Linked DNA regions of Homo sapiens: all the other regions are linked to region 3. The links are contacts of gene promoters, found by promoter capture Hi-C in blood cells and fetal thymus (Javierre and others, 2016). All regions are on one chromosome and are shown on one strand. The core of a region is centred on a gene start or on the middle of the fragment in contact, and the rest is flanking DNA. Distances in the headings are between cores, read along the strand shown.

Region 1 (2,700 bases), core at 199-2,698, 140 kb before region 3:
TCAGATGCCCCATGTAGGTTCCCACCTCAGCATCCGTCCCTCCACCTAGAATACCCTTCCCTTTCCTCATGCCGTTGGTTTGGCAAACTCCTGCTTATCTTCCAACACCCACTCAGCAGTTCTCCCAAACCCATTTCCTGTCTCCGTGTCTGGGGCAGGGCCTGTGTCCAGGGAACCTTCCTATTCCCACACCCCGCTGGTGGCCTAGCTCAGAGCAGGCTCTTTGCTGCCACAGACTAAATCAGACTGCTCTTCTCTTCCCTTCAGTTCATTCCCAGCACTGACCCTTTCCAGAAGGCCCTGAGAGAAGAAGAGAAACGCCGAAAGAAAGAGGAGAAGCGGAAGGAGATCCGAAAAGGCCCAAGGATCTCCAGATCCCAGTCTGAGTTATAGCCCTGGAGCAGCTCAGGGCTCAGGGGGCCACAAGGAGGCAGGTCGGGAGGAAGAAGAGGTGGAGGTGTGGTTGTGGTGGAGAGCACCAGCTAGCCCCTTCCAGAAGGGGAGGCCACATTTGCCCGGCCCCCTGGAGCTGGGTCTGAGCCCCAGCTGAAGGGACTGAGCCTCAGATGGCTGGATTTTCTCTCAGGGGCCTCCTGCTGAAGGGGCCTTCAGAGGATTTTATGCTGGAAATATGACCCTGTGCAGACTGCTGGGGGAGGCAGGAGGATGCCTGCCTGGACCCTGTTGGTGGCTGAAGACCTCTGGCCAGCTGGCTTCCGCCCTTGGTGGGGAAGCAGCAGAACTAGGTTCTGAGCCACGGGTCAGGGTGCCACCCTGCTGCTGGCCCCACTGTGTCACAGAGCTGCCTGGCACAGGTCCCAGCCCCTCTGCAGAGACACAATAAAAGCCAGCAGACCCTTTGGACCGACCAAGGCTGGTGGGGACACTGTGAGGGGACCAGGGCCCCTCAGGGATGTAGAAACAGCTTGGAGGATGCCTCTGCCCCACCAGGAGGGGCCCCAGGCCCTGGCAGGGCAGAGAAGGAAGGGGCTTGGCTTGGGCCTCCTGGTCCTACGCCATCACTGCCCTTGACAAATGATTGGTGTTGGGAAAGGACCTGGAAGTGCCCTGGGACCTGGGAAACATTTAGCTCAAGAAGACCTTGGAGCAACATGATCCCTGTCCTCAGATGTCTGGGGACAGTCATTGAGCAAGCACAGGGAAGTCAGCTTGTTCTCTCTGGCAGCGCTGGAAGACAGTCAACCTGTGGGTGGGGGGCTGCAGGGGGACAGGCCGCAGCCCTGCAGGAGGCCGTGCTCCGCAATGGCTGCCCTAAGCTGCATGGGTCAGACAGCTTCCCGTCTCGGGAGGCCACAGGGCAGGGAAGCTGCAGAGGGCATGTGGCCCTGGGTAGGGCAGCTGCCCTTCACTCATGCCCCTCCCAAGCAGAGGAGGGAAGGGCTTTAGTGAGAATTCTAGCTCTGCCTCTTTGACCTTGCCAAGTCAGGATCTGCCTCTTAAAGGAGCAGAGAAAACCATCCCAGATCCCCTCGACACCCAGCCCCCTACCACTGACAGAGCACAAGTGAGATCTGAGTGTTAGCCCTTCAGATTTGCTGACTGGCCTTGGCCCACCCCTCCCTGTGCTGCAGCTTCATTGGCAAAATGAATTTGATGGTATCTGTATCCCCTGCCCAGCCCTAACCTGTTTCTCTGAGGCTGGCCTCCCTACGGGGCTGCAGCAGCAAAGGGAAGCCAAGCCTTAGAGAAGCCTCATGGAAGGGCCCAGAACATCCTGCACCCATCAGTTACTCGGAAGTAAGGGGACAAGAAGCAGCTGGAAGAGAGCTGGGTGTGGGGGCTGGGAGGAGTGCTGGAGAAATTTCCCCATCAGAAGGCCCCTCACTGGGCAGTGGAGGCAGGGCAGTGTGGTGGGACTGACTCAACAGACATAGTTTCATCTCCACCCTGCCCTTCTCAGGTTGTGTGACCCCAGCCACATGGACACCCGAGTCTGTGAACTAAAGGGCTGGTCCATGGCATTAACAGTGGAGGGTGTCCAGGTTCTTGATGTCTTGAACAAAGAATTGGGCAAAATGCACAAAGCAAGGAAGGAATGAAGGGTTTTACTGAGAATGAAAGTATACTCCACAGCATGGGAGAGGGCCTGAGCATAGGGACTCAAGGGGCCCGTTACAGAATTTTTGGGAGTAAATACCCACTAGAGGATTCCATTGGTTACTTGAGGTACACCCTATGTAAATGGAAAGGATGAAGTAAATTTACAAATTCATTTACAGCATATACCCTATGGGGAGGATATTCCCTGTTATAGCTGAAGCGTGAATTGGCCTTATGTTCCCTGCCTCCAGACCCTATTTTCCTGCATCAACGGGAAAGGGTCAGATTCACTGGCTCAGCTGTTTAACCTGTCCTGGTGCCAGCAGCTGGAGCTGGGTGTCAGGACCAGCCCGCAAGCTCTTCCCTGCCGGAAGGACCAGGCCAGTCGCTGTCCTTTTCATGCTAGAGAGTGGTTGTGGTTGCTGACTTAGCAGAGAAGGTGCTTGGCTTTCCCCTTAACTGGAGAAAAAACTTTCTAAGAACCAGGCCTGGTTGGCAGCAGACCTAGCTTTCTTGGGGTGGCAGGGAGGCTAAAGCATACCTCAGGACAGTCAGTGGTGGGTCCAGCTTCGGCTGGAGGTTCTTTCTACTGAATAACTTCTACGGGCTCTGTCATTAGCAGGATTTGTATAATTTGAA
Region 2 (2,700 bases), core at 201-2,700, 250 kb before region 3:
GTGGCATGATCTCGGCTCACTGCAACCTCTGCCTCGTGGGTTTCAGCGATTCTCCTGCCTCAGCTTCTCAAGTAGCTGGGATTACAGGCGTGTGCCAGCATGCCCGGCTAATTTTTGTATTTTTAGTAGATGCTGGGTCTCGTCTTGTTGGCCAGGCTGGTCTCGAACTCCTGACCTTAGGTGATCCTTCTGCCTTGGCCTTCCCAAGTGCTGGGATTACAGGTGTGAGTTACTGTGCCCAGTTTGGTTTTGCCTTTAGATTAAGCATGCAGAAAGCATTTTTTGTGGGGGATTATAGGGACTTACCATTACTACCCCGTTAGGAATAATAGATTGGAGTTTCATATAGCAGTTGACATTGTGAAATTTCCCTTGGCTCCTTGGTTGTTTTCTGGACAGGCAACCTGATGGAGCATCTGTTGAGAGGCTTAGTATACCCCAGTGAGGGCATACAAGCTTCTGTCTGTTACCTTTATGGGAAGCTATACTCCTCACCAGTGGCAGCTGAGATGCTTTCAGGACACTTCCGTGAGAAGCTTTTTCCCCTCTTCCTTTCCATCCTGGATGGTGCCCAGACAAAGGAGCTGCAGATTAACTGCTTGGGTAAGACATGAGGCTGGAGAAAAAAGGGAGAATAAGTTTTTGACATTTTGCTAGAAGACTTGAGATATTGGGTTCTCTAGTAGTGGGGAAGTTTGCTGTTTTGCAAAAGGTAGAAGCCACAAGGCTTGAGAGATAAGAGACACACTGTGTGAAAGATGCCTAGAGTTGGTATGACATCTTAAGAATGTTGCCTTTGGAGGAAAATAGGAAGGAAAGTGGGACAGCAATTTTTTCTGCCTTTACTGCCTGCCCTGGTGCATCCTGTATTTGCTGGCAAGTTAATCTTTACATTGTATAGCTCACGTCCTGTCACTTTCTTAAGTCAGAAATTCTTCCATGGTTCCCTCTGGCCTCCAGGGTAAAGCCTAGGTGTCTTAGTGCATTTTATGCTGCTATAACAGGATACCACAGACTAGGTGATTTATAATGAAAAACTTATTGGTTCAGAAATTTATTGGTTTGTAGTTCTGGAGCCTAGGAAGTCCAAGATCAAGAGGCTGGCAGTTGGTGAAACCCCTCTTGCTCTGTCATCCCATGGTGGAAGGGCAAAGAGAGGGCAAGAGAAAAAGCTAGAGGGGACTGAACTTGTCCTTTTTTTTCTTTTTTCTTTTTTTTTGAGACAGAGCCTTGCTCTGTTGCCCAGCTTGAGTCCAGTGGTGCTTTCTCAGCTCACTGCAACCTCTACCTCCCCGGTTCAAGTGATTCTTTTTTTTTTTTTTTTTTTTTGAGACAGAGTCTCACACTGTTGCCCAGGCCGGACTGCAGTGGCGCAATCTTGGCTCACTGCAAGCTCCGCCTCCCGGGTTCACACCATTCTCCTGCCTCAGCCTCCCGAGTAGCTGGGACTACAGGCGCCTGCCACCATGCCCAGCTAATTTTTTGTATTTTTAGGAGAGACGGGGTTTCACCGTGTTAGACAGGATGGTCTCGATCTCCTGACCTCGTGATCCACCCGCCTTGGCTCCCAAAGTGCTGGGATTACAGGCGTGAGCCACCGCGCCCGGCCGGTTCAAGTGATTCTTATGCCTCAGCCTCCTGAGTAGCTGGCATTACAGGCACCCACCATCACATCCGGCCAAGTTTTATATTTTTAGTGGAAACGGGGTTTCACCATGTTGCCCAGGCTGGTCTCGAACTCCTGATTTCAGGTGATCTGCCCACCTTGCCCTCCCCAAGTGCTGGGATTAAAGGCGCAAGCCACTGTGCCTGGCCTGAACTTGTCCTTTTATGAGGAGCCTACTCTCATGATAACAAACCCACTCCCATGGTGATGGCATTAATTCATTCATGAGGGTCCAAACCCAAACCCCAAACTCATGACCCAAACACCACCCGTAGGTCCCAGCTCCTGATACCGCTGCATTGGGGATTCAGTTTCCAACACATGAACTTTGGGGAACACATTCAAACCATGGCACTAGGTTTCTCTGCTTGTTACTTGAGGCTCTTTAGAAGCCCCAACATACCCTTTTAACGTCCTCTCCTGCTATTTTTTTACATAAATACATAAGGTCTATCAACTGTTCTAAGCAGGGAGATTTCTTATTTTGGGCAGAACAGATGGGCACTGTAATTGGTGCCTGGTTGAGGGCCTGTTCTCAGGTAGAAGCTGTAGAGAAAAGCATAGTCTATTGGTGACAGCAGCTTCTTTTCAAAATTTGGATCAGGAGCTCTGTTATGAATGACCTAGCCATACATAGTGAGCATTCGTTCTATAGCTGGCCCTGTGCTGGGCTCTGAGGTCACAGAGATGATCAAATCCAAGCTTTATCTTAGGGGAGCTCACAGGCCAGTGTAGAAGACACACATGGACAACTAGAGTCTAGTGTGATGAGTGCCATCTTGGAGGTGCACAGCAGAGGGTAGGAGCAGGGGACAGGAGAAGCTTCCTAAAGGAAAGGATGCCTGGACTGAGTCCTAAATTGGGGGGGAGAGGAGGAAGGCAGAAACACGGGCCAGAGCACGAGGTATGAAGCAGCCTGTATCTGCGGTAACTTGCAGCAGGGCAGTGTTGGAGTTAGTGCATATAGAACAAAAGGGTGCAAATACAGGCCCTAGGGTGAGGCCCTTGGCAGTCCTACAGCTCACCTAACCACA
Region 3 (2,700 bases), core at 7-2,506:
CTGTGGTCCCAGCTACTCTGGAGGCAGAAGTGGGAGGATCACTTGTGCCCAAGAGGCTGCAGTGAGCCATGATGGCGCCACTGTCTTCCAGCCTGGGCGACAGAGTGAAACCCTGTTCAAAAAAACTAATAACAACAACAGCAACAACAAACGAAACAGAGCTGAGCTAATATGGTAGCCACAGATTAAAATAAACTAAAAAATCCAGTTCCTTGGTCACTGTAGACACATTTTAAGTGATCGGTAGCCATCTGTGGCTAGTGGCTACTGTACTGGACAGCACAGACATAGAACATTTCCATTATCACTGAAAGTTGTATTGCCCAGCGCAGCTCCAGAAGCTCACTCGCTAAAGAGAGAGACACACAGGAGAGCAGACCAGACAACACAGTGTTGTGTGGGCTGCAATGTCCTCCTCGGTAAAAAGCAGGTGATGAGGCGGAGATTAAAGGAGATGCCAGGAGAATGCTTAGCCTAGTTCCTGACTCAGGGTGAGTGCTCGGAGGACATCTGCCATCACCGTACAGGACAGTACTATAGGATCTGTTTACATACCTATCTTCCTAGCAGACTGTGAGCTCCGCCCAGCCCTGGCATGGTGCCGGGCACAGAGCAAGTGCTCAGGAAATAGTAGCTGTTATCAGCACCATTGTTATTATCACCACTGCTATGACAGAGGCAGCCGAGGGCTGTGGGAACACAGAAGAGGGCTCCCATCCCAGCCCCAGGGCCAGGGGCTGCTGAGAGTCGGCATTGCCAGAGCCAGGCTGGGTGGCTTTGTGGTCCCCTCAGGGGCAGGCCTAGGGCGGGGTCCTCTTCACACCCTTAGGGTCTGGGTACAGGGTCCAGCTGGAGCAAGCTGGGGCTCAGGGAATAGTTGTGGAAGGAGCTCTAGCCTCCAGGAACTCCAGCCCCCTTGAGGAAAGACCAGGTGAGTGGGCAAGATGGTCTGAGGGTTGCAGAGCTGAACAGGGCATGAAGGGCACAGAGGCAGAGCCAGAGGGAGACTCGCGCTGGGACTACCAGAGTGCAGCCATATTTGGAGTACCCCTGTTTTTACTGCAGACTCCCCAGGCATCAAAGTCTGTGGGAGACAGAGCAGATTTGGGGAGGGCAGGCTGCAGGGAACCTCCCTGCAGGTGGCCGTGAGTGCCAGCCTGGCCGTTACCAGCCTCCCATGGCTCTTCAGGATTCCAGAGGCTCAGAGCAGCCATTCACAGCCGCCCACTCCTAGGAAGCCAGCCCCTCCCTGCACCAGAGCCCAGCCCAGCACGGTCTCCGGGGATGTAGCTGGTGGGACAGTGAGCAGAGGGCTGGGCCCTGTGCCTGGGGACTGTGGCCTGGAGGCTGAGCAGGAGCTGAGGAGGGGACCAGAGGGACAAGGCCCCTAAGCTGGCCACCATGGCCAGACTCTGAGTGCAGGGGAGGTGAGGGGCCTGCGTGTGCCTTATCTTCCCAGACACACTGGATCCTTCTTGTCCTCTGATCAAGGTAGGTGTGTAGGGGGGTGGAAGGGTGTGGGGGTTTGTGGGGGTGGGAGGGTGGTGGGGGTGGGGTGGGGAAGGACCAAGCAATCCATGGAAGATGGGAGTGCAGTGAGGGGATGGGGAGTCGGGTGATGCCCTCGGACACCCTGTCCTCTGGCCTGCTCTGTGTGTGGGTGTGCACACTGAGGGGAGCTGTTTGTGGCTAAGTGCAGGGTAAACGTGTGTGCCCAAGTGGATGTGGCTGTGCAGGAGGGGGCAGAAGTTCAGGGCTGCAGTGATAGGCCAGGTGGGAAAGGGTTGGAGGCCAGGACAGTCTTGGATACAAATATATGGCTGGAGAGGGATGAGGGGCTGGGGGCACCATTGTGAGGGGTGATGCCTTCCCTGTCCGGTGCCCTGCCTTCCCCGTCCCTGCTGCAGACCTCAAGGACCTGGCTACATGATCACTCCCCTCCCCATGAGCCCTCTGGAACTGACTCCTCCCACCAGCCCTGGCCTTGTCCCCCAGCTGCAGGTCCCAGCCTGCTGTGTTAAAAGCAACCAAACCAACTTTTTTCTAGAGGGTGAGTTACTTGGAGTCCAGAGTAGCAGGGAGTGGCCCATCTACTAAGACCACAGCCAGAGTCCTGAGCTTCATCCTCGACACCTCTTTGTGCCCACTCCCTACCCTGGGCAGTCCCGCCACTTCTACCCCTGTGCAATGCAGCCTCCTCCAGCCCCAGCCCTAGCTCTGCCCCTTGCACAGCCCACGGAGCAGAGAGTTTCAACTATGTCCTCATGGGATCCTGGCTTCAATTCTGTTCCCATCTGATCCCTCTGTCACACTGCCCGAGTGGCCGTTCCCACCTACAGATCGGAATGGGTCACATTCCCTGGCCTAAACTTTGCTGTAGCCTGGCCTGGACCCCAGCTCACCTGCAGCCTTGGCTCTCCCCTCCCTGCTACATACAGCCTAGGAGCCCCATGTTGGATTTTCAGAAAGATGCCACACTTTCTCACCTTTGGGCCTTCTGTAGGAACAGCCCCAGCTCAGGTCTAGCCTCCCGCCTTTCTACCCCTAATGCTTAGCTTGGTGGAGCCCTGCCTACTTCCTTGCCTGGCATCCCTGGGCATGGCAGCCTCTTCAAGGGCGGGGACCATGGCTTGTTCACCAGATAAGCTCCTTCTGTGAACACTCACTGCCTCTCCATTTCCCATCCTCACCTTCTCCAGG
Region 4 (2,700 bases), core at 181-2,680, 230 kb before region 3:
ATCAAGCCGTAACCATATGCAGTTGACTGAGAACCTGTTAGAAGGCCCAACAGATGGCTCTCAGTGCTCAACAAAGGCTCAGGGATGAGGGTCTTGCTCTGTCACCAGGCTGGAGTGCTGTGATGTGATCTTGGCTCGCTGCAACCTCCAACTCCCTGGTTCAAGCGATTCTCCTGCCTCAGCCTGCCGAGTAGCTGGGATTACAGGCACGCGCCACCATGCCCAGCTAAATTTTGTATTTTTAGTAGAGACAGGGTTTCATATCATAATGTTTTAAGAAAGTTTACAAATTTGTGTCAGGCTGCATTCAAAGTTGTCCTGGGCTGCATGCGGCCTGTGGGCTGTGGGTGGGACAAGCTTGCTTTAGAGGGGACATGGCCCTGACGACACCTCAATTTCAGATTTCTAGCCTCCAGAACTGTGAGAGGATAAACTTCTGTTGTTTTAAGCCACACAGTTTGTGGTAATTTATTATAGCAGCCCTAAGAAACCAATACCCTGTGAAATAGTCATTCATTCATTTGACATCTGTTCTATTAATCATCAACTTACAATGCATCTGTCTCTGTTTAGGTAAAGTGAAAAGATGGAACTGGTCCCTTTCCTCTTGGAAACTCACAATTAAACTAGTCAATGACTGTTGGCTCTTCTGAGTCTATAGAATCTGAGGGTTCAAATGGGCCTTAGGTGTTACCTGTCTACATTTACCCCACACTCATAATGATTGAATCTCCAAAAGTACTTTTCCAGTCTCTGCGTATAGTCTCATAGAATGGGGAATCACTTCTCCCTAGAGATGGTCCCCAATACTTCTATAGACTTTGACTCAGAAAATTCTCAGGCTGATGCTGGGCGTGGTGGCTCACGCTTGTAATTCCAGCACTTTGAGAGGCTGAGGCGGCAGATCATGAGGTCAAGAAACCCCGTCTCTACTAAAAATACAAAAATTAACTGGGTGTGGTGGCGTGCGCCTGTAGTCCCAGCTACTTGGGAGGCTGAGGCAGGAGAATCACTTAAACCCGGGAGGCAGAGGTTGCAGTGAGCTTAGATTGCGCCACTGTACCCCAGCCTGGTGACAGAGCGAGACTCCATCTCAAAAAAAAAAAAAAAAAAGAGAAAAGAAAGTTCTCAGGCTGGGTGCAGTGGCTCATGCCTGTAATCCCACACTTTGGGAAGCTGTGGTGGGTGGATAACTTGAGGTCAGGAGTTTGAAACCAGCCTGGCCAACATGGTGAAATCTCATCTCTACTAAAAGTACAAAACTTAGCTGGGTGTAGTGGTGTGCGCCTGTAGTCCCAGTTACTCAGGTGGCTGAGGCAGGAGAATTGCTTGGATCTGGGAGATGGAGGTTGCAGGGAGCCAAGATCACACCACTGCACTCCAGCCTGGGTGACAGAGTGAGACTCCATCTCTGGATCTTAGTAACATTTACCTGTTGATCCTGGTTTTCCTCGTTGAGTTAACAAAGTTTGATCCCTCTTCCCCAGAAGAGCTTATTACTTATTGGAAAACAGTAGCTGTCACTCTCTTGATGCACGTTCAATTCTAGGTAGTGCTTCTTTTACCAGCAGGCTCTCCTCTGCGAGAAAACCTTGTATCCTTAATAGTAATAATAGACACAGCTGACATTTATAAGGACTTATTACGTATTAAGCATCATGCTAAGTGTTTGGCATACATTATCGAATTTGATCCCCATAATAAGTCTATGAGGAGAGTACTATTAGCCTCATTTAATAGATGAGGAAATTGATGGTTAGAGAGGGCAAGGAATGTACAAGAAGTTGTGCAGTTAGATAAGCATTGAAGTAAGGATTTTTTTGAGACAAAGTCTTGTTCTGTCACCCAGGCTGGATTGCAGTAGTATGATCACGGCTCACTGCAGCTTCTACCTTCTTGGGCTCAGGTGATCCTCCCACCTCTGCCTCTTGAGTAACTGAAATCACAGGTGTATGCCACCACACTTGGCTAATTTTTGTGGAGACTGGGTTTCACCATGTTGCCCAGGCTGGTCTCCATCTCCTGGACTCAAGACATCTACTCATCTCAGTCTCCCAAAGTGCTGGAATTAACAGGCGTGAGCCACCATTCCTGGCCTGGAGTAAGGATTTTTATCAGATTAGATTCCATGTTCTGATCCAACTGCACTGCCTCTCATTGCCTGAGAACCTGGGGTTATCTTGGGAATACCGTTGCCTTACCGTGAACCTGCTTTTGTCTCTCTGGATGCAGGAAGGACCATCAGAGCACTCCACCTGTGCAGTATGGGGAACTGCAGGCTTTGCTAGAAGCCATGCTAAACCGATGTGCGGAGTTTTCCCAGACCTTGCTGAGCAGGAGGCCCCTGGTCAGTGTACTGCAGCCTGCTGCTTCCGAAGATCATGCTGCAGTGTGTTTTTAGAAAGATAATTAGTATATTCCCTTACTTTTGTATGCTATTTCATGACTTTTTCTCATGCACACATGGCTACAATGAGATGCTTTTTCCCTAATAGCAGAACTATGAAGCTTAAGGATTACTATTGTCATTTTTACAGATGGGGAAACTAAAGCCACGAGGGTTAAATAATTTTTCTCTAAGGTCCAAAACTATAAAGTACCTAAGCCTAGAACAGTAAATTCCAGGGTGTTTTTACCCCAGTCTATTACACACATTCTCTGTTTATATCATATAAGCAGATAGGGTAAACATGCTCACAA

What was found. Contacts are between HindIII fragments. The CHiCAGO score rates a contact against its expected background, and 5 or more counts as called.
Region 1: a fragment that was not itself captured here is called in contact with the fragment with the promoter of SEPTIN3 in region 3 in 1 of 17 cell types (naive B cells); the score reaches 6.1 in naive B cells.
Region 2: a fragment that was not itself captured here is called in contact with the fragment with the promoter of SEPTIN3 in region 3 in 4 of 17 cell types (naive B cells, naive CD8 T cells, total CD8 T cells and 1 more); the score reaches 7.3 in naive B cells.
Region 4: a fragment that was not itself captured here is called in contact with the fragment with the promoter of SEPTIN3 in region 3 in 5 of 17 cell types (activated CD4 T cells, non-activated CD4 T cells, total CD4 T cells and 2 more); the score reaches 6.7 in activated CD4 T cells.

What each region holds. Positions count from the first base shown.
Region 1 is chr22:41,825,431-41,828,130 of GRCh38, forward strand. It overlaps CCDC134 (coiled-coil domain containing 134), which reads left to right. Exons shown (of 7, transcript NM_024821.5): 7 at 268-2,700. The coding sequence ends at 393. It overlaps SREBF2-AS1 (SREBF2 antisense RNA 1), which reads right to left. Exons shown (of 2, transcript NR_157279.2): 2 at 2,051-2,700. Among named protein-coding and RNA genes, the nearest start is that of SREBF2, 6.3 kb to the right of the region's middle. RefSeq lists an enhancer at 699-1,205. The HindIII fragment of the contact is 9,332 bases long and covers 1-2,700 here.
Region 2 is chr22:41,717,672-41,720,371 of GRCh38, forward strand. MEI1 (meiotic double-stranded break formation protein 1) reads left to right here. Exons shown (of 31, transcript NM_152513.4): 6 at 400-603. Among named protein-coding and RNA genes, the nearest start is that of MEI1, 20 kb to the left of the region's middle. The HindIII fragment of the contact is 1,832 bases long and covers 535-2,366 here.
Region 3 is chr22:41,968,187-41,970,886 of GRCh38, forward strand. It overlaps SEPTIN3 (septin 3), which reads left to right and starts at 1,257. Exons shown (of 12, transcript NM_001363845.2): 1 at 1,257-1,491. The HindIII fragment of the contact is 14,934 bases long and covers 1-2,700 here.
Region 4 is chr22:41,740,848-41,743,547 of GRCh38, forward strand. MEI1 (meiotic double-stranded break formation protein 1) reads left to right here. Exons shown (of 31, transcript NM_152513.4): 12 at 2,233-2,347. Among named protein-coding and RNA genes, the nearest start is that of MEI1, 43 kb to the left of the region's middle. The HindIII fragment of the contact is 2,151 bases long and covers 356-2,506 here.